4 separate regions of the Homo sapiens genome follow, and regions 1, 3 and 4 are each linked to region 2. The links are contacts of gene promoters, found by promoter capture Hi-C in blood cells and fetal thymus (Javierre and others, 2016). All regions are on one chromosome and are shown on one strand. Each heading gives the region's core, a stretch centred on a gene start or on the middle of the fragment in contact. The rest is flanking DNA. Distances are from core to core; before and after follow the strand shown. Region 1 overlaps CNNM2 (cyclin and CBS domain divalent metal cation transport mediator 2). Region 2 holds the start of INA (internexin neuronal intermediate filament protein alpha). Region 3 overlaps CNNM2 (cyclin and CBS domain divalent metal cation transport mediator 2). Region 4 overlaps CNNM2 (cyclin and CBS domain divalent metal cation transport mediator 2).

What was found. The method cuts DNA at HindIII sites, captures the fragments that hold promoters and counts their contacts. A CHiCAGO score of 5 or more calls a contact.
Region 1: a contact is called between a fragment that was not itself captured here and the fragment with the promoter of INA in region 2, in 1 of 17 cell types (endothelial precursors). The highest score is 6.3, in endothelial precursors.
Region 3: a fragment that was not itself captured here is called in contact with the fragment with the promoter of INA in region 2 in 2 of 17 cell types (erythroblasts and endothelial precursors); the score reaches 6.6 in erythroblasts.
Region 4: a fragment that was not itself captured here is called in contact with the fragment with the promoter of INA in region 2 in 1 of 17 cell types (endothelial precursors); the score reaches 5.4 in endothelial precursors.

The regions. Positions count from the first base shown.
Region 1 is chr10:103,061,014-103,065,687 of GRCh38, forward strand. The region is part of intron 4 of CNNM2 (cyclin and CBS domain divalent metal cation transport mediator 2); the gene reads left to right. Among named protein-coding and RNA genes, the nearest start is that of NT5C2, 130 kb to the right of the region's middle. The HindIII fragment of the contact is 1,675 bases long and covers 1,343-3,017 here.
Region 2 is chr10:103,275,441-103,280,229 of GRCh38, forward strand. It overlaps INA (internexin neuronal intermediate filament protein alpha), which reads left to right and starts at 1,698. Exons shown (of 3, transcript NM_032727.4): 1 at 1,698-2,836. The coding sequence starts at 1,772. RefSeq lists an enhancer at 2,113-2,717. The HindIII fragment of the contact is 2,856 bases long and covers 380-3,235 here.
Region 3 is chr10:103,080,671-103,085,328 of GRCh38, forward strand. It overlaps CNNM2 (cyclin and CBS domain divalent metal cation transport mediator 2), which reads left to right. Exons shown (of 8, transcript NM_017649.5): 8 at 1-4,658. Among named protein-coding and RNA genes, the nearest start is that of NT5C2, 110 kb to the right of the region's middle. RefSeq lists an enhancer at 3,002-3,296. The HindIII fragment of the contact is 2,093 bases long and covers 1,935-4,027 here.
Region 4 is chr10:103,023,633-103,028,480 of GRCh38, forward strand. The region is part of intron 1 of CNNM2 (cyclin and CBS domain divalent metal cation transport mediator 2); the gene reads left to right. Among named protein-coding and RNA genes, the nearest start is that of CNNM2, 110 kb to the left of the region's middle. The HindIII fragment of the contact is 1,983 bases long and covers 1,780-3,762 here.

The sequences.
Region 1 (4,674 bases), core at 930-3,429, 210 kb before region 2:
TCCTTACGTACTTAAAAAGAAAATAGAACTATAATTATGTGGAAAAAGAGCAAAGCAGCAAACTAAAAAAGAACAAATTAATAAAGATTGTTATATAAACTGGCCGGGCGTGGTGGCTTGCACCTGTCCAGCACTTTGGGAGGCTGAGGCAGGCGGATCACTTGAGGTCAGGAGTTTGAGACCAGCCTGGCCAACATGGTGAAACCCCGTCTCTACTAAAAATGCAAAACTTAGCTAGACGTGTTGGTGTGCGCCTGTGGTCCCAGCTACTCAGGAAGCTGAGGCCCGAGAATCACTTGAACCCAGAAGGCGGAGGTTGCAGTGAGCTGAGATCGCGCCACTGCTCCAGCCTGGGCAACAGAGCGAGACTCTGTCTCAAAAAAATATATATAATAATAATTTAAAATTGAAAATGCCTTATAACCAACAAACACAATCAAGATTTGGCTCTTTGAAAATATGAACAGAGTCAGTGTTCTGTTGGCATAATTGATGTGATAAAAGGAAAAAAAAGTTCTCTCCTCTCCTATAAAAGCAGCTAGAATAAAAGGATTTGCTAGAAAAAATAGTCAATCTTCAAAAAACTCACAATTTCTATATTATAGAACAAGATGGCATGATAGTCAATTGCATTCTTTAAGGCTAATATGGGCTTAATCCTAAAATCTGATAATATAAGCCAATCTCACTTGTTAACATTGATGTAGAATTTCTAAATAAAATGGTAGCAGATAGCAACACACACCCAGGGTTACTGACTTGTGGCTGTGACTGAACTGGGTTTATTTTAGGAATGCAGTTCTAGTTTAAGAACAACAAAACCAAAATATGTCACATTAATTGGGAAAGTAGTAAAAAAAAATGATATTTATATCAGTAGATGTCAGACAGTTGACAAAGTTAAGCATCTATTACTGATTTTAGGAAACAGATGCCCCATCCCCTCAAATTTTTAACTGAATGGTAGACAAAAAAGAAAAAGTACAATAAATCATATCCTAAACTGGTAGCCTCCCATCTAAATCATTGTTTTACAAAGCTATCTATGCAAATATATTTATAGCAAATCTATTAACTATAAAGTAGTAGAAACAGTTCACGTCTAGCTAATCAAAGTGAGATGATAATATGAGGGATCACTATGTAGTAATGGAAGAAGTGGAAAGCATGTGCCCGGCCCATCCACACTCTTTTTTAGAGCATCTGACATGGATTCAAAAGGGACTTTTCCCTATAAACGGGGGTCGTCTTGTGGAGTATGGCAGGTGGCATCTTAAAATTTATACAGCCCTTGAAATACTTAGTATGCCTTCACCCTTCACCTGATAGGAAGGAGAATTTAAGCTTTTAATAGCAACCTCCTCATGGGTTTTTAAGTTGCACGGTCTGTGTACCCTAGTGCAGTAACGGATCCTTAATCTTGAGTCAAGCACAGATAACACACCCATTTTACTTGGACACCCAGCATTGAAACTTTTAAAATTATACTACTTAAGTATATGTCAGTATAAAATTGACTAGGTATAAGATTCCTTTGCTTAGAACTCTTATATATAACTATAAACCAAAACAAACTATCAAATGAATAAATTCTCAATGTGTAGATGATATTTGGCTGACCTGGAAGGGCCCCATCCCAGGGCTGTGGAGGGCTGCTGCCCTGCGAGCTCCCTTGCATTCAGCACACCTGGGCCTTTGTGTGTCCAAGATGTCTGCACCCTCCAGCCCTTTGCCAAATTTGAGCTACTTTGAATGTTTCTACAGTGTGTCGTGCTATTATTTGGCCTCCACTGGGTGTGACTGAATTACTTCCCTGTTAAATCCCACTCTGTTCCCTACTCATTAGCTCAGTGCTTCTCAGAATTTAATGTGCAGAGGATTCACCTGTGGGTCTTGTTGAACGGCAGATCCTTCAGTATGAAACGAATGCTTCAGTAGGTCTGGGGTGGAGTCTGAGATGCTGCGTTACCAGCAAGCTCCCAGTTGACAGTAGCAAGGCTTAGCTGTGATGCTCCAAGTAATACCACGTGGCACCAGAGTGGCCAAGGCGGGTGCTGGCACTGACATCTGGTGGTAGCACTTGATTGGAAAATGGTCAGTCAGATGGTCCAAAATGTGTCTAAATTAATTTTGACCATCAATATTTAGAAAAGTAAATTTAGCAAACTTGCTGAGTCTGGCCATTCCATTGCAGACTCCAGATTGAAAGCATTGCTAGAGAGTGTCGGGGCACCAGGTCTCCCCAGGCTTTGAGTGGGCATCTTTGGGTGCTGCAACTCCTCTCTCGGTTAATACAACCCAGTCTTTGTGCCCCTGGCATCTCATCACCTGCTTTCAGGAGTCAGGCCCCCCTGAATACTTTGTGATGGCGATTTAAAAAACAAGAAGGTGAGCGGGAGACCAGGTGGCTGCTCAGCATGTGGCGCATGGGGAAGTCCCGCCTTGAGCCGCATGCACTGATCCCGGGTTGGCACTGTTTGCACCAGTGTGGTTGTGCCCACGCTGGCTAGGGAAGTTTAGGATTCCACTTTGAAGCCAGACATGGCACGGGCTGTTGAGTAGGTTGTGGACACTTAGAAACTTTGAGAAGAGGTTATCTGATACCTTTGTCCAAAGAAGGGCAGGATGCTGTGAGAGATGCTTTACTCAGGAAGCCAACTTTGCTGGTCCAGTGAGTCCTTCTTCCAAGTTCGTCAGTTTATAAGCATGAAGCCCTACTTCCCTCTGGGAATTCTTGGAATTCATCATGTCCTGTCCTGGTTTTTTTGGTGATATGCTCGACTAGAGTAAACTTACAGATGTTTCAAAAGTAAAATCAATATGTAGCTTCCTTATATGGAAAAAGTTGTTATCTGAAAGGACACCTAATTAATCTCGAACCAGGTAAGCCATCTCCTCCTGTGCCCTAATTTTTGTATACTGGTAGGTTATTTGAAAATGAATGTTTTTTGGAACCACTAACACGTAAATGAATAAGATACGTTTACTGGATGTTTTTAAAACTTGCCTGCCAGAAAAGCTTAAATCCTATAGAGAGGGATGTAGTGGGGTGGGCAGGTTTGACAACTCTTGGAATTGTAGAGTCATAGAATGCTATTATAGAACTGAAAGAACTGCAGGTACCCTTTAATCTGTTGCAACTTTATATGAAGTAAAATTACTCTAATGTGATAACTCTTCCTAAGTGCTGAGATATTTTAACAAAGTTTTTGCCAGTTTGAGGCAGAATGAGAAAATAAAGACAGTTGCGATGAGCTTTTCATAAAGCTATGTGTATTCAGTTTGAAGACCTATTACTCTGAAATGACATATTTTCTAAATTTGAGGGGTTAAATGTCTGGTCTTTTATGAAATGATGGTAACAGTAGATAGCTGTTTTTTTTGTTTTGTTTTGTTTTGAGACAGTGCCTCACTATTTCGCCCAGGCTAGTCTTGAGCTCCTGACCTCAAGCAATCCTCCTGCCTCAGCCTCCCCAGTAACTGGGATTACAGGTGTGAGCTACTGTGCCTGGCAATAGTTGTGTTTTTTAAAATAAATACCTTTATTTTGCCCTGGCACGGTGGCTCATGCCTGTAATCCCAACACTTTGGGAGACTGAGGAGGGAGGATCAGCCAGGAGTTCAAGACCAGCCTGGGAAACATAGTGAGACCCCGTCTCTATAAAAAAATAGAAAAATTAGCTGGGCATGGTGGTGCACACCTGTAGTGCCAGCTACTCAGGAGGCTGAGTTACAAGTGTTGCTTGAGCTCAGGAGTTCAAGGCTGCAGGATTCTCACCACCGGTGCGGTGAGCCATGATTGCACCACTGCACTCCAGCCTGGGTGACAGAGTAAGACCCTGTCTGAAAAAATAAATTTTAAAACCATCTTTATGAAAAAAAAATTTGGCAACCCCGTATCTTTCCCTGTATCTGTCTCTGTAGAGGTGCGTCTTACTGGCCGTTAGGATGGAAATGTCTAGGAATCACTGAGCTTAGCATATCCACCCCGCAGCAGTGAATCTCAACTAGATGGAGTCCAGAGGGAAGATGGCAGATCCTCCCCTGCCTGGGATCCTGTCTGGAAGGACAGAGGAAGCATCAGCTGGAATGGCAGTGGTCTGGAGTTTTGAGTCTTGCAGCCGCCCTTGCTTAATCAGTTGACTCAGCTACACTGCCTTTGAGGGAGTCCCTTGAGAGGCCAGGGCACACAGTTTCCAGGGCTGGGGCCATTGTTCACAGACAGAGCCTTAAAGCAATGATTCCCAAAGTTTGTGGCTTGCTAGAATCACCCGGAAATCTTTTTAAATAAAATCCTGATGCCCAGATTCACCTATATTGTTAAATGAGAATGCCCGAGGGCCGGAGCCAGAGTCGGTAATCTGGGAATCTCTGCTTTGAGTGTGCAAGGCAGAGCTTCAGGCCTCAGAGTGGAACCACCGCACGCTTCCAAGAGACAGATGGTGTGAACCTATGGATTAAATAGAAAAAAAGATGTACAGTTTTCTGTTTTACAGTCTTGTTTTGGTTGTGCCTGCCCTACTAGTCCTGACAGTTTTATCTCCAAAGAATAGTGACCTGGCATCTGTCTGCAGGGACACAACACAAAAGGCCCTGTAACTTGTACAACAAATGCTCCAGATAACTGGAGACACCCAGGAACGGAAGTCACCATGAGGCTCCACTGCATTTGAC
Region 2 (4,789 bases), core at 448-2,947:
TAGCAATCTTTTATTGTTCACCTTACCAGGTCTTTCTAAGCCCAAAGACCTCAGAATTGAGTCCCTCCAACTCAAGGCTTTGGTCTGTGATGAGGAACCAGAGGGGCAGGCTGTGGCAGGGCCTGACCATCTTCCATGACATCAAGCACAAAGCCAAGAGATATGCTCCAAAGTCCCATAAGATCCCTTTTCACCCTTCCTTTAGTGGCCTGTCCCAAGCATATTCCCCTTTCCCCATGAAGTAAAACTTATCCTAGAACTACGTCCTTGAAGATTCCAATATCAATAAAAGGCCCTCAGTCTGGAATTCTGGGATATAACTAAAAAGGTCTTCCTACTCCCTCTCCAAAGCCATATCCACATCCTGAATGATATTAGAAGCTTGCAAGTGGGTACATATTACAGACGCCACACTGACCCCTCCCAGCCTTCATCTTTTCAGATTCCATTCTTTGATTCTCACCCCCTGCCCCACCAACCCTACCATGTGGCAGAAGAGGCCGGCTCAGTCACCAGCACTCTCCCCCACTCCTGGAGTTTAATCTTTTTGCAGGGATCTCTTTTCTCCAAAAAGAGATCTGCACAGGGAGTGGCTCTCTGAAGCCAGTTGAGAACCTGCCCTGCTGGATTTACACAAACTGAAATCTCAAATGCCCACAGGGTCAGAGAGGTAAAGTAAATGAATTAAGAAGGGGGGCGTAATTCAGTGGAGAATGGCAGGGACTGTAGTGAACAGGAGAGCACACTTCTTATACAAATGGCAAGGGCAACTCACCTCTGCCACTGTGGGCATCCCAGCTCTTCCCATTTTCAGAAGAAGCCAGAAATCCAATTTCTTTACAGGTGAAATCTCCTGGTTTAAAAATGCTCCTTTCGAAATATTTTAAAATATAATGCTCTAAACACAAAAGTCTGCAGCCCCCTTTCCAGCAGCTTGTGGTCCTGGCCTGTGCCATGCTTTAGTGCCCTAACGATGAGCCCCAGCAATTCCCAGCGCCTCCTGCTTCTCCAAGTCTGGCCTCTTTTCCCCTCTGTACCGCCGCTTCTCCCCACTCTCCGCAGCTCGGGGTCACTTTCTTTACTGATCTCCCCTCTCTTCTGGGAGAGGCACTTGCTGAACATCTTTCCGCCCGGAGCCTCCCCAGGAGCTGCAGAGGGGCAGCTGGAGAGATGCTTTCTGACGTAGCATCTCCCACCTTTCTCCTTGGGGACCCTGAGGAAGGGGACAAGGGCTCGCTCTGCAGGTCCTCACTGTAACTGGAAAAACACGACCTCGCCCTCGGGAAGGCTTTCTGTGCGCCTCACCTCAGGATGAGGGTGGGTGTAGGGGACACCTCCCAGAAACCCCTAACCTCCCAGTCGGTTAAAGAAGAGGGGATAGGGTCAAGGGATGCGACAGAGCTGTGTGGTTTCCGGATGGGAAACCTCAGTCGTTTAGGCACCCCTCCGCTCGAGTCACTTCCGAAGCAGTCGATTCTTGGGGAGAAGCGCTGCGGAAAGGGGCGACTCCGATGCAGATGGCCCTGTCCCGGCGCCCCAGGTCGTCGCGCGCGCAGCTGCGGTAGTCACTGCGCCTCCCCGCCCCCACTCCTGGATGCCCCCCTTCCCTCTCCCGGCCAGACTCTGAGCAGGAGCTCCGCCCCCAGCGCGCCGCCCCAGCCCCGGCGCCTTAAAAGCCGGGCGCACCGCCCCGCCGCGCCCTGCCTGCCGCACCTCTCCTTTCTTCTGTAGCTCGCGTTGAAGCCGCACGTCCGGCCCCGATCCCGGCACCATGAGCTTCGGCTCGGAGCACTACCTGTGCTCCTCCTCCTCCTACCGCAAGGTGTTCGGGGATGGCTCTCGCCTGTCCGCCCGCCTCTCTGGGGCCGGCGGCGCGGGCGGCTTCCGCTCGCAGTCGCTGTCCCGCAGCAATGTGGCCTCCTCGGCCGCCTGCTCCTCGGCCTCGTCGCTCGGCCTCGGCCTGGCCTATCGCCGGCCGCCGGCGTCCGACGGGCTGGACCTGAGCCAGGCGGCGGCGCGCACCAACGAGTACAAGATCATCCGCACCAACGAGAAGGAGCAGCTGCAGGGCCTCAACGACCGCTTCGCCGTGTTCATCGAGAAGGTGCATCAGCTGGAGACGCAGAACCGCGCGTTGGAGGCCGAGCTGGCCGCGCTGCGACAGCGCCACGCTGAGCCGTCGCGCGTCGGCGAGCTCTTCCAGCGCGAGCTGCGCGACCTGCGCGCGCAGCTGGAGGAGGCCAGCTCGGCTCGCTCGCAGGCCCTGCTGGAGCGCGACGGGCTGGCGGAGGAGGTGCAGCGGCTGCGGGCGCGCTGCGAGGAGGAGAGCCGCGGACGCGAAGGCGCCGAGCGCGCCCTGAAGGCGCAGCAGCGCGACGTGGACGGCGCCACGCTGGCCCGCCTGGACCTGGAGAAGAAGGTGGAGTCGCTGCTGGACGAGCTGGCCTTCGTACGCCAGGTGCACGACGAGGAGGTAGCCGAGCTGCTGGCCACGCTGCAGGCGTCGTCGCAGGCCGCGGCCGAGGTGGACGTGACTGTGGCTAAACCAGACCTGACCTCGGCTCTGAGGGAGATCCGCGCCCAGTATGAGTCCCTGGCCGCTAAGAACCTGCAGTCCGCGGAAGAATGGTACAAGTCCAAGTTTGCCAACCTGAACGAGCAGGCGGCGCGCAGCACCGAGGCCATCCGGGCCAGCCGCGAGGAGATCCACGAGTATCGGCGCCAGCTGCAGGCGCGCACCATCGAGATCGAGGGCCTGCGCGGGGCCAACGAGTCCTTGGAGAGGCAGATCCTGGAGCTGGAGGAGCGGCACAGTGCCGAGGTAGCTGGCTACCAGGTAAGGGCCGGGGCTGGGCGTGGGGAGGGGTGCCCTGCCCTCTTCCGCGCGTACCCTCTTCCTCTGGTAAAACTGGGCCCCAGGACTTAAGGGGAGGGCAAAAGAGAGGAGAGAAGAGCCGCGGCTGGAGGCGCTGGTTAACAAAAAACCCTGGAGTCTTTAATGTTAATTTTAGGGAACGCCCCTCATTTATGTCCCTGCCCCAGCCCTTCAAACAAAGAAGCCCTTAAATTTATTTGAGGTTCGAAAACCCAACTCTGCCTGTCTGTCAGCAAGCGGGCCTACACACACCGGCGACCCGGAGAACAGTGCCCCACCCAAAGTAAGACTGAGCCCAACGGGGCAGGTTACGTGGGCGGTGCTGTCTCGGCTATCTGGCTTGTTTGGTTGACTTTGAAAAGCTTTCTGTGCGCCCTAGAAGTTATTTATGGAGTATGGTCTGCTTCAGGGCTGAAGGAAGAATGCGATCCTGAACTGGGAAGAGTCCTATCCCATTTTCTTGACTTTCGCGCTCCAAAAAGTAGAGATTGGGAGCCAACAAGCTGAGCGATGCTTGAGCTAGTAGTAACCACCCTGCTCTACCCACCTCCCCAACACACACACACACACGATTCCCTTGTCCACCAGCACACACACACACACACACACACACACACACGATTCCCTTGTCCACCAGCTGACATTTCCTCCTTAAGAAAGCGTTCGCCGGTTGGCAAAACGTGAAAGGTCGGGGCGCTGTCCACGGTGCTGATCTCGAGTTCTTCCCATCTCAGAAATTATGTCTCTCCTGTCTCGTGTCCCAGTTATGAATCTCTAGGCAATTAACTGCTTTGATTTTTTTTTTCCTGCAACACCAACACATCAGTCTTGGCTACCTGCAATCAAAGGTCACCTCATAGACAACATCAGTTTTGGCTTTCATGGATGGCTTAGCACTAAACAAAAAACACTTAATTTGCTCAGCAGCTGTGAGGTCCCACTTGAAAATTCCTGTTTTGTTAGTATTTTTTTCATTGTAAGTGCATGTGATAAGTCACAGAGATGGTTTTTCTTTGTTCTAGTGTATGTATTTTTTCCATATTTCCCTGTCCTCTAAGCTCCTGTGATGGTATTGATTGGCTATTTCTTCCCAACAAAGGCCACTGTGTCTTCAGTTTTACTATATAAGAAATTCTGGGATTATGACCGCAAATGGCACAGAGGCAGGGGACAGGGTAAATGGAAGGTGTAGAAAAGAATTGGAATAGTGTGGTTCGGTTTCAAGGTACAATAAAAGCTCCTTTGAATAGAATGACTATAATTCAGAAACTTGCAATAATTCTAGCTAGGATTAAAGTTTACATTTGGTGAGATTAATAGGGCTTGGAACATTGGTAAAATAGAACCAAGAAAGGAATGAAATCTCAAAAGTAACATTTTAATCAGAAGCTAAAGAATTCTTATTGATGTGCAGGTATTTGCTGTTTGTTACAATAACTTCCTTTGATAAAGGAAAAAAGCCTGCTTGGACTGTTTAGGTTAGTTTGGTATTGCATTATCATTCAAATAAGTACTTCCATTTCTGCCTCAAAATCCATAACTTGAACTTTTCATTATGTACCCTAACCCCTGGATGGCCTGAATTAATCACATTTGGCTAATTGAGACTTCATTTTTTTCTTCTAGAAGCCTCCAAGTACGAGCTAGGTGGTCTTCTGGAGGGCTAGCCCAGTATTTCTACAAAAAAAGGATAACTTACTCAGAGCTGCCAGCTGAATTGGGCTTCTCCATTTTCTCTGCTTGTTATAGCCCATACATTCTAAGAAGTAGTGACAGTTTTGCCTGGCTTGTTTGCTGTAAAAGGCTTTCATCATTAGACAATGGTAGCGTCATCCAGACATGGTCTACAGGAAACAAACAAAAAACAACAACAGAGAAACTGCAGCATCTGCAGCTCTGCGGTGCTGCCCCCAT
Region 3 (4,658 bases), core at 1,731-4,230, 190 kb before region 2:
TAATACGGAACAGTAACTGTGAGTATATTTACCTGTGCTGTCGTCAGCACTGTACACTAAAGGACCAGCTTTTCCAAGCCTAGGAAAATAATGGTAGATACAAATAGAAATACATTTTCCCTAGGAAATAGAGCAATAGGAATTTGAGCTAAGCAGGTACCATGAACTTCTGCCCTCAAATTCTCTCTTTGGGTTGAGGAGCAGACCTGTATAGGCCCTGGCTGATCAAGTCTGTGTCCTGCCTAGTAAAAACACACAACCACCTCTGTCATCTGAAGGCCAGCCGGGGATCTGTAGCCATCCTCGCCTTGCCTAGGCCCAGGAAGGTGAGGTCTCCTGGGCAACCAGAGTTGCCCCTGTGGTTCCCCAGGGGTGATCCTAGGCAGATGACTCACCCGGGCTGGCACAGGAAGGTGCTCACCTTGTTCTCTGGGGCTCCAAGCAAGAGCAGGCCAGGGAGGGCTGGCTTTGCACGCTATGTAGCATGACCCAAGCTCCCTGGTGGCATGGGAAAAACTCCCCTCTGCTTTTGAGCCCAGATATGGGCTTTTCTTTGCAAAGGGTTGAGGAGAAATACAAGACTGAGCTGGTAGGTTAGGGTCCAGAAGGCCTCTGAGGTGCCATTGCTTACTTCCTTACTGAGGAAACTGGCTCTTGTCCTGGGCCATGTAGTTCCATTCTGGGCTCTAGGCTAGTGGTGCTTCTGTCCATCAAGGGTATCTGGGTGAGTTGTAGGTTAACCCAGAATTTAGTAGGGATATAGGGGTTTGAATAGGAAAGTGATCTGGGGATTCAGAAATTTTTCTGATGTATCAATGAGCAACTTCTCAGTGGATTTTTATACCTCAGGGTCATTTGCAAATCTTTATCTTTTCCTATTTCTTAGGTGTTCAAGTTGGTTAATAGGAGAGAGACGTTCAGAGACTTCTAAGTTGAGGTTCATTTGCCTCCGTTTGAGGGGTGAGTGGTGCACCAATAGCTTGCTGCTGTTACTTAGCAAGGCTGTGACAAGTAGGCCTTCCTCCTCTAGCACTTGCAAGCTTTCTGTCTGCGATCACGGTTTACTTGCCCATTTCCCTTTTGCTACCTTCTTTCCTATCTGGAGATTCATATTCTAGAGTCCCTGGTCAACCCTACGGATGCGAAGAAGAGATGGCAGTTCACAGCAACTGCATAGAGTAGGGAGCAGCTTTCCTCCCACCATCCTAGGCTGGGGACCTTCTTTGCTTCTCACACCACTGTGGTTGGCTCAGCTCAAGTAAGCACGTTCTCTCTGTATGCTAGAGCTACTGACATCATCTCTACTAGAATTGTTTTAAATATCTTTTGATGGGAAATACCAGGTTGAACTTCAAGCATCATGGAAACAAAGGTTCTAGCTGCAAGAGAGTAAAGTTCTAGGTGTTTGTATGCCAAGGTTTATATGTACACAGATCCAACACATACTGTAAGAAAGACTTGAGTACACAAGGTTTTCAGGTTTTAATGCCCATTGGGACCGTGAACAAATGAGAAGAATGGGAGCATTGTCTTGCCTCGCTTGGAAGGACGCCTTCCGGCATCTGATCCACATGGATTCACTTTTAGGATGCAGTTCTTTGGGGGCCAGATTTGGCTGCAGATTCACCCTGAAGAGAACTATCCAATGGGCCTGGTGGGGCTTGGGTGCCTGCCTTTTTTGTTGGAGGCTCAGACTTCTAGAGCAGAGCAAAGTTGGGAAGAATGAGGTCTTAGGATTCTCATTCCCCAGAGAGCCCCAGCCTCGCTTCTGATCATTACTCCCCAAGTCTGAATCTACTGTGAAGGTGAAGTTATCAATTTTTTCTTGTTTGAGTCCTTTAAACCCACAAATGTATATGCTTTATTTTATATTATTTATTATGTACATATGCCTGTTAGTACTTCGTCTGTGACTAGGACAAGGTCTGTCTTGAAGCTTCCTCATCCATGGATCCTAGGGTTCTGCTGTCCTTTAAGGCGGGTGAGAGGGTAGTGTTGTTTTTTATAAACAGGTTGCTGCTTTTATGTTGGCCCTAGCATCCCCAGCCCCTTTAGTTGGGCCCACCTGTATTCCTTATGACCAGTGTTTTGGATGAGGATGGAGGCAGGTCTCCTACCTTGTGGGCAGGGCCTCTCAAGTACCTCCATGAAATATTTCCAAGGTGGTTTCTTGGTGACAGGCTCTCTTCCCCTATGTAGGGTACAGTACAGCTGTGAGTCCACGGCCTCCCTCCTCCCAAGGCAGGTCACTTGCCTGGCCCCACAGTGATAATGGTTTCTTCCACTTACCTTAGATTGCATAATCCATCTTTCTGGATAATGGAAGCTGCCTGCCTATCTGGGCTCTTAATATGCCTTTTCTTGGTTTTGAGGCCCAGTGCCAACATTGCCTTGGCCCTCAAGTAAGACCCTGCTTTGTGTCTGACTTTGATCCTCCTCAGCCTTTATTCACTGTATCATAGTGTACAGGTCATGCATTTGAGCAGTGAAGTTTTCTGAACACAGTATTCAGAGCTGTGTACATAAACCTAAATAAGCACAAATGACATGTATAGGATTGAGCTGATTGTCTTAATGAATGCATTTTATAATTCAAATGATGTAGATGTACAGTCTCTCCTATTTATTTTGTACCAATTTATTTGTAAATTTTGTGATTGTTTTACAAGGTTTTTGTTTATTTCTATTCTATTTAGATAAATGATGTTCTGTTCACCCTGCTAGCAGATGTGTGTTCCCTCTTCCCTTTCATCTGTGCAACACCAACCATGCCATTGTATTCAGCTTGGCTGAACCAACTGCCCTACCCACTTGCCTGGCTTTGCTGGTGGGAAAGCTGGGACTGGATCTCAGCATGACAACATAGAAGAGCATCTTCTTTGGACAGTGTAAAGTCTTAAGAGAAGTGGGTACTAGTTCTGTGCCTCCAAGTCACAGCCTGGTACAGCCAATCCTAGGGGGAAGGTGTCCTTCTTTGCAAGGATTATAATCTGTTCTCCATCAGTTACTCTCTACATAAGAACATTCGGAGTATCCAGTCAAATTGCCCCAGACATTGGCTGCTCAGTCACTAATAACAACACACAGTGCCGCTGGGCTAAGCCGGCATTTCCTAGGTAAGACCAAAGGTCTCATTCAGGCCTCTCAATTGGCTCTTGAAAACAAGGATGGCTTTATAGGTCCTCCTCTGCTATGCTAAGCCTGGGAGGAAGGTCGGAGCAGGCATGGATAGTCACTTTCAAGTGGAAAACATCCGGCCTGAGTGTGGCGAGGCGTGTGCAGGTGGGTCTTCAGGATTCAGTGGATATCCTGCATTCCCCAGTAATCGGTGTGTATGATACACGTTCTTTTCCATCACTACTTTGTCTTCTGTTCCTTCTTACCCTCATCACTCACATGAGACCAGTCCCTGAAGAACTTACGGTGGAGCTTCAGGGACCCTCTGTGATCCATTCCTAAACCACATCTTTTTGGAATCCCTTTTCTCTCCACTTTTAGTCTCTATTTTACATTCCAAAGAGGATCGTGCTCTGAAAATTTAGCCTCTTGACTGGTCCATTTATAGTCTCCACTGAATTTATTTAACCGTGGCATTTGCAGTCTTTTACTTACACTTGTTCTGTGGATGGAGACATTTCAGGGAAGAACTGCTGACAGAATTGGCTTTCAGACACTGCCTGACCTAACTACCGCTCCCATCTCCCCAGGTATCGCCCAACTACCTGAAAGTAGAATGAGGTGTATCTTAGCCCAGTGAAATGCTGTCTTCGAACCCTGCTTGCTTTCATTAGAAGCAGGGCAGAAAGTGGCAGCAGAGCTAGGGAAAGAAATCATGGTAGCACATTCACTCCCAGCCTCCTGCCTTGGTTTGTTTTTCCTGTTTTACTCACTTGGTCTAGATGAGCCCTTAGCTCAAATCAGGAAATGCTCCAAGGAAAATGGAGGCAATTTTTCCTGCTGTCAAGATGAGATTTGCCTAAAACTCCCCCCTGCATCCTCAGAGTGCGCACACATCCGCTCATTTCTAAGCTTTATCGTGATGCACCCGGGGTTTCTATTTCACAAAAATTGTGCTCCCTAGAGCCGTTTTTCAACTCGGCACTTCTGAGGAAACAAATATTGATCAGAGGGTCTTGTAGAGAAAGTGGTTAAAAACTGACCTTTTTATAGCCTGGAGTTGATTTCTGGAAACTTATTTTATACTTTTTGAAGGTAATTTAAAAGAGATGATTCTTTATTAAAGCCAAAAAGTTGAATTCTATTAGGTGGATAATAAACTCTTTTGCTTTCTTTGTATGGTGGTTTTGTCATTTTCCCTCCAAGGGCCTCATATCTGTGCTCTTATTTTCAAGCAGTCCCAGGACAAAGGGATGGTTCTAGGGCCCTTTTCTCTGACTTTCTGCTGGCATGCCATCTCCCCTAGTGGATTACTGAGGACTGAGGATGCACGTTTCTAAGGGAGAATTAGTTGCCCGACTTCTGAAGTGCTTTTCCTGTCAGGGTATTAGTGACTGTGCAGTGTTCAAACAGGAGGCCAACACATGATAGGAAATTTTAGATGGGGCCAGTTTTCCTACTGCAGTTCTACTAAGTCATTGACTTGAGGTCAGTGGGTCCAAAAAGTGACTTGTTTAAAGATACCCACACACTCAAGTCAA
Region 4 (4,848 bases), core at 1,521-4,020, 250 kb before region 2:
TCCAGTACCTCTCACTAGGCCCCATCTCCAACATTGGGGATCACATTTCAACAAGAGATTTGGAGGGGACACACATCCAGACCATGTGATTTCCATTAAACAACAAAGTCAGCAAAAGGATGGAATCATTAAAAATTATATATACCCTAAATATTATTTTGAAATAAAACAAATTTGCAATCATTTGACAAACTTGTTTTGATTATAAAAATGTGCAAAAATGTAAAAATTGAGACTAGTATAATGAATATACATATATTTTTTAGATGTGATAATTTTTAATTTTTTGAACCATTTCAAAGAAAGTTACAGATATCATACTTTATCCTAAACTGTTTTTGCATACTTCTTCCACATAACCTAATTCCATCATCACTCTTAAGAAAATTAGGGTACCCTAAAATCATTGACTACTCTCTCCATATTCACATTTTCCCAATTGTTCCACAAATGTCATTTGTAGTTGGTTTTCTTCTAACAAGGATGCAATCAAGATTTTTGCATTGCATTGTGATATTATGCTTTTTTTGGTGTCTTTAAGCTAGAATAATTCCTCTCATTTTTTCATGACATTGAGTATTTTTTCATGATACTGACTTTTTAATAAGTTTAAAGTATATATAAAAGTAGAGAAAATAGACAATAAACCACAATATACCCATTACCAATTCAATAACTATCATGGCTTTGTTATATTGGTTTCATTTATCTTTTTTCTTTGCAAAAATATTTCAAAACAGATTCAAGACATACCATTTCATGCCTCATAAGTCTAAGCAATAAAGTCATTTTGTGATGTAACCAAATACAGTACTGTGATAATACCAAGCAAAATTTATTTTTATTTTTATTTTTATTTTTTTTGAGATGGAGTCTTGCTCTGTCACCCAGGCTGGAATGCGGTGGCGTGATCTCGGCTCACTGCAATCTCCGCCTCCCGGGTTCAAGCGATTCTCCTGCCTCAGCCTCCCGAGCAGCTGGGACTGCAGGTGCGTGCCACCATGCCTGGCTAGTTTTTTGTATTTTTAGTAGAGATGGGGTTTCACCGTGTTAGTCAGGATGATCTTGATCTCCTGACCTCGTGATCGACCCACTTCAGCCTCCCAAATTGCTGGGATTACAGGCGTGAGCCACCGCACCCGGCCGATATTGGCTTTTTAAAGAAACCAAGCTAGTTGTTTTGTAGAGTGCCCTACATTTGGGGCTTGTATGATTGTTTTGTCATTGTATCATTTAACTCATTTATCTATCCCATGTATTTCCTGTACACTGGAAGCTAGATCCAAATTCCTGACTACATTAAACACCTTCATCAGTAATACTTTATAAAGGATGAAATATATTTTGGTGTGCAATACTTTAGGTGGTACATATGGTCTGGTTATCCACTACTAATGATTTTAAATTTGATCACTTGATTAAGGTAGTGACTGCAGTTGGCTCCGTTCTATTTTATTTATTTTTTATTTTTATTTTTGAGACAGCGTCTCGCCCTGTCACCCAGGCTGGAGTGCAGTGGCGTGATCTCCGCTCGCGGCAACCTCCAACTCCCTGGTTCAAGCGATTCTCCTGCCTCAGCCTCCCAAGTAGCTGGGATTACAGGCATGTGCCACCATGCCCGGCTAATTTTTGTATTTTAGTAGAGGTGGGGTTTCACCGTGTTGGCCAGGATGGTCTTGATCTCCTGACCTTGTGATCCACCCACCTCGGCCTCCCAAATTGCTGGGATTACAGGCGTGAGCCACCACGCCCAGCCAAGTTGGCTCCATTCTAGAGATAAGCTTTCTTCTTTGGGATTAGCAATGATCTGTGGAGTGATACTTCAGCACCACACAAATATTATTTTCTCCATCAACCTCTCCCCCTAATAGTTTTAGCATCTGTTAATGTTCTTTGCCTGAATCAATACATTTCAACAGGCATTGGAAGATGGTGTTGCCATTCTTCTGAAGTAGGACCCAGGCATTTTCTTTGAGTTGGGCTTACTGATTCGTGTTTCATACAATAGTGCATGAATCACATCCGTAGTATATCTTCTCTAAGTTATCCAAATCTTCTCTAAATCTGAGTTTTCACTTCAAGTGGAACAAGCAATGCAAAGCATTTTCAAAGCAATACAAGTGCAGAATCTTCCTAGATCTGTTTTCTCTTACCCCCTCCTAATTCAACAGCAGGGATTTTTTTGTTTAACAGCCTGCTTTTACTGATTCTTTCTGAAAGATTCATCATATTTGCTGTGGGTTGAATGTGTCTCACAAAGTTCATGTGGCGAAACTTAATCTCCAATGCAAACACTGGGAGATGGGGGTCTAATAAGAGGTGATTGGGTCATCAGGTTCCTCGTGAATGGATTGGTGTCATTATGTAGTTAGGTTAGTTACTGTGAGAATGGGCTTGTTATAGGAGCAAGTTCAGTCCCCTCTTGCTCTCTTGCCCTTCTGCCATGGGATGACACAGCATGAAGGCCCTTGCCAGATGTGGGCCCCTCAATCTTGCACTTCCCAGCCTCCAAACTGTAAGAAATCTGTTCTTCATAAATTAACCTGTCTTGGGTATTGTGATGTAGCAGCACAAAATGGACTGAGACAGTGTCCGTAGAAACAACTTTTCTATTCTCTTAAGTTTTTATAATACTTAAATTACATAATTGCAGCATCAAGTACAAATGTCATAAATATTTTTGGAGGCTGGGAGTAGTGGCTCATGCCTGTAATCCCAGCACTTTGGGAGGCCAAGGCGGGTGGATCGCTTGAGCTCAGGAGTTTGAGACCAGTCTGGGAAACACGGCAAAACTGTGTCTCTACAAAAAATACAAAAATTTAGCTGGGCATGGTTGCACATACCTGTAGTCTCAGCTACTCAAGAGGCTGAGGTGAGAGAATTGCTGGAGCCCAGGAGGTCAAGGTTGCAGTGAGCTGTGATCGTGCCACTGCACTCTAGCCTTAGGGACAGAGTGAGACCTTGTCTTCAAAAAAAAAAAAAAAAAAAAAAAAGGTTTGGAAACAGAAATAACCAATTCTTAGTAAAATTTCTACTTAATCCAGGGGAGTTTAGAATGCAGAGTACTAGATAGCAGTCTATTAGACAAAAGCATTCAGTGTGCTGTGGGCCTCAGTCAGTGTGTTCTACAGGGAGAATGGAGTGTGTTCATTAGCACATTGTTACATGGAGGTCAGTTAAGAGAAGAGTCTAACATGTTGTAATTTTCCTTGCCTGTCTTCCTTGGTCGACTTCCAGTTCCTTGACAGTAAGGAAATCAGTCTTGTATGTGTTTGAGTTTAATCGCTGGTGCATGGTACAGTGCTTAGCATATAGTGAGTGCTCAAGAAAAATACTTGTTGAATGAATTCATGACTGGCCATATTGACCTCAAGTGAATTCTAATCATAAACATGGAAACCTTTGCAATATCTTTAAAAATGTCAAGGTTGGTATGGCCATTGCACATAATTTATTATTTCATTGGCTTTTCCCCTTCTCATTCCCTCAGTCTTTGAGTCTTTCTCTGCTCTGTGCCAACTTCCTTCAATTTATTGTGTATTACAAGCTACCTGTGTTTATTATCATTCCAGTTTCCTGACAAAGATGCAAAAAGAATGTGTAGCAGTTTGGCTGCAATGGCGCTCTGCCCAAAGAGAGATGAGATTCTTAGGAAAATACAAAGTAGTTCCTTAGTTCTCTATTCTAGAGCTTAACCAATCCCAGGAACTGAAGTCTTCTGTTTCTTCACAGAGGAAATATGACAAAGGCAGTGGCTGTACAAGCTTCCTTCATGGGCCGCCCTCCCCACTGCCTCATCCAGTAAGCGGGAGCAACTACTTCTAGAGGTGAGAGGGGAGGGAGGACAATCTCCATAACCCATTCGATGCACCCAGCTGCAAAATTTTGGTATTGAGAAACTGAGCAAACAATTTGTAGAGTTGCTATATTGAACTTTAAAGCAAAATAAGCCTACATAGGATTGAATGCTCAGGTGATACAAATGATGGTCTTTGATAGAAGCCTACAATCTATATTTTGAAAGAAGCTACTTATAGCTGTATAATTCCAATAATCCCAAGATCCTGTTTCTATAGATATTAAAAGGTATTATGCATGTACATTTGAGATGATTTTTAGCTTCCTAACCCATGAGAAAGTTCATCAGTAATATAATCATTATCATTTATTGAGCACTTACTATGTGCCAGGCACTATTTAAATTGTTTTTTCATTTGATTTTTCAATTTTTATAGTAAACATAGGGTATATCTCCATTTACAGACGGTCAAAGTGGGAGGCCATGAGAAGGTAAATGACTTGCTCTCAGTCACACAGGTAGTATGTAACAGAGTCAAAGCATCTACACCCATACTTGTCTAATTTTAAAGTTCTTAATCACTGATAGTATGCCTAGGGTCCTGTCACATATTTGAGCTCTTAAAATCTGTGCCTTTTTTGATGAGGGGTCAGTGACCGAGAGCAGCCTAGATCTGCTGAACATTGTATCAGGAACTGAGGTGATGTTCCATAAGGCATTTGTAGTGCGTACTCACAGAAAGCTTAAGACAGTTTGTCATTTTTACCAAGGACCAGGTCCCTCAAAAGGATGGTCTGTTTCTAAGGTTCTTTACGGAAGCAAATGAATGTTGAGTTCTTTTGGCCATTCATTCGCTCATTTATTCATCTAGTCATTCAGTAAACACTTATCTTTTTTTACTTGACAACTCATTGTATTTGAGTATCAGAGTCTCGGTTTTCAGGTTGAATTCATGTTTTGTGTTTATAAGAAGATAATGAAAATTCTTGAAGACATTCTCAAGCACAACAGAGGAAGGAGCACAGGGTTTGATTTCTACTTGTTTTTCA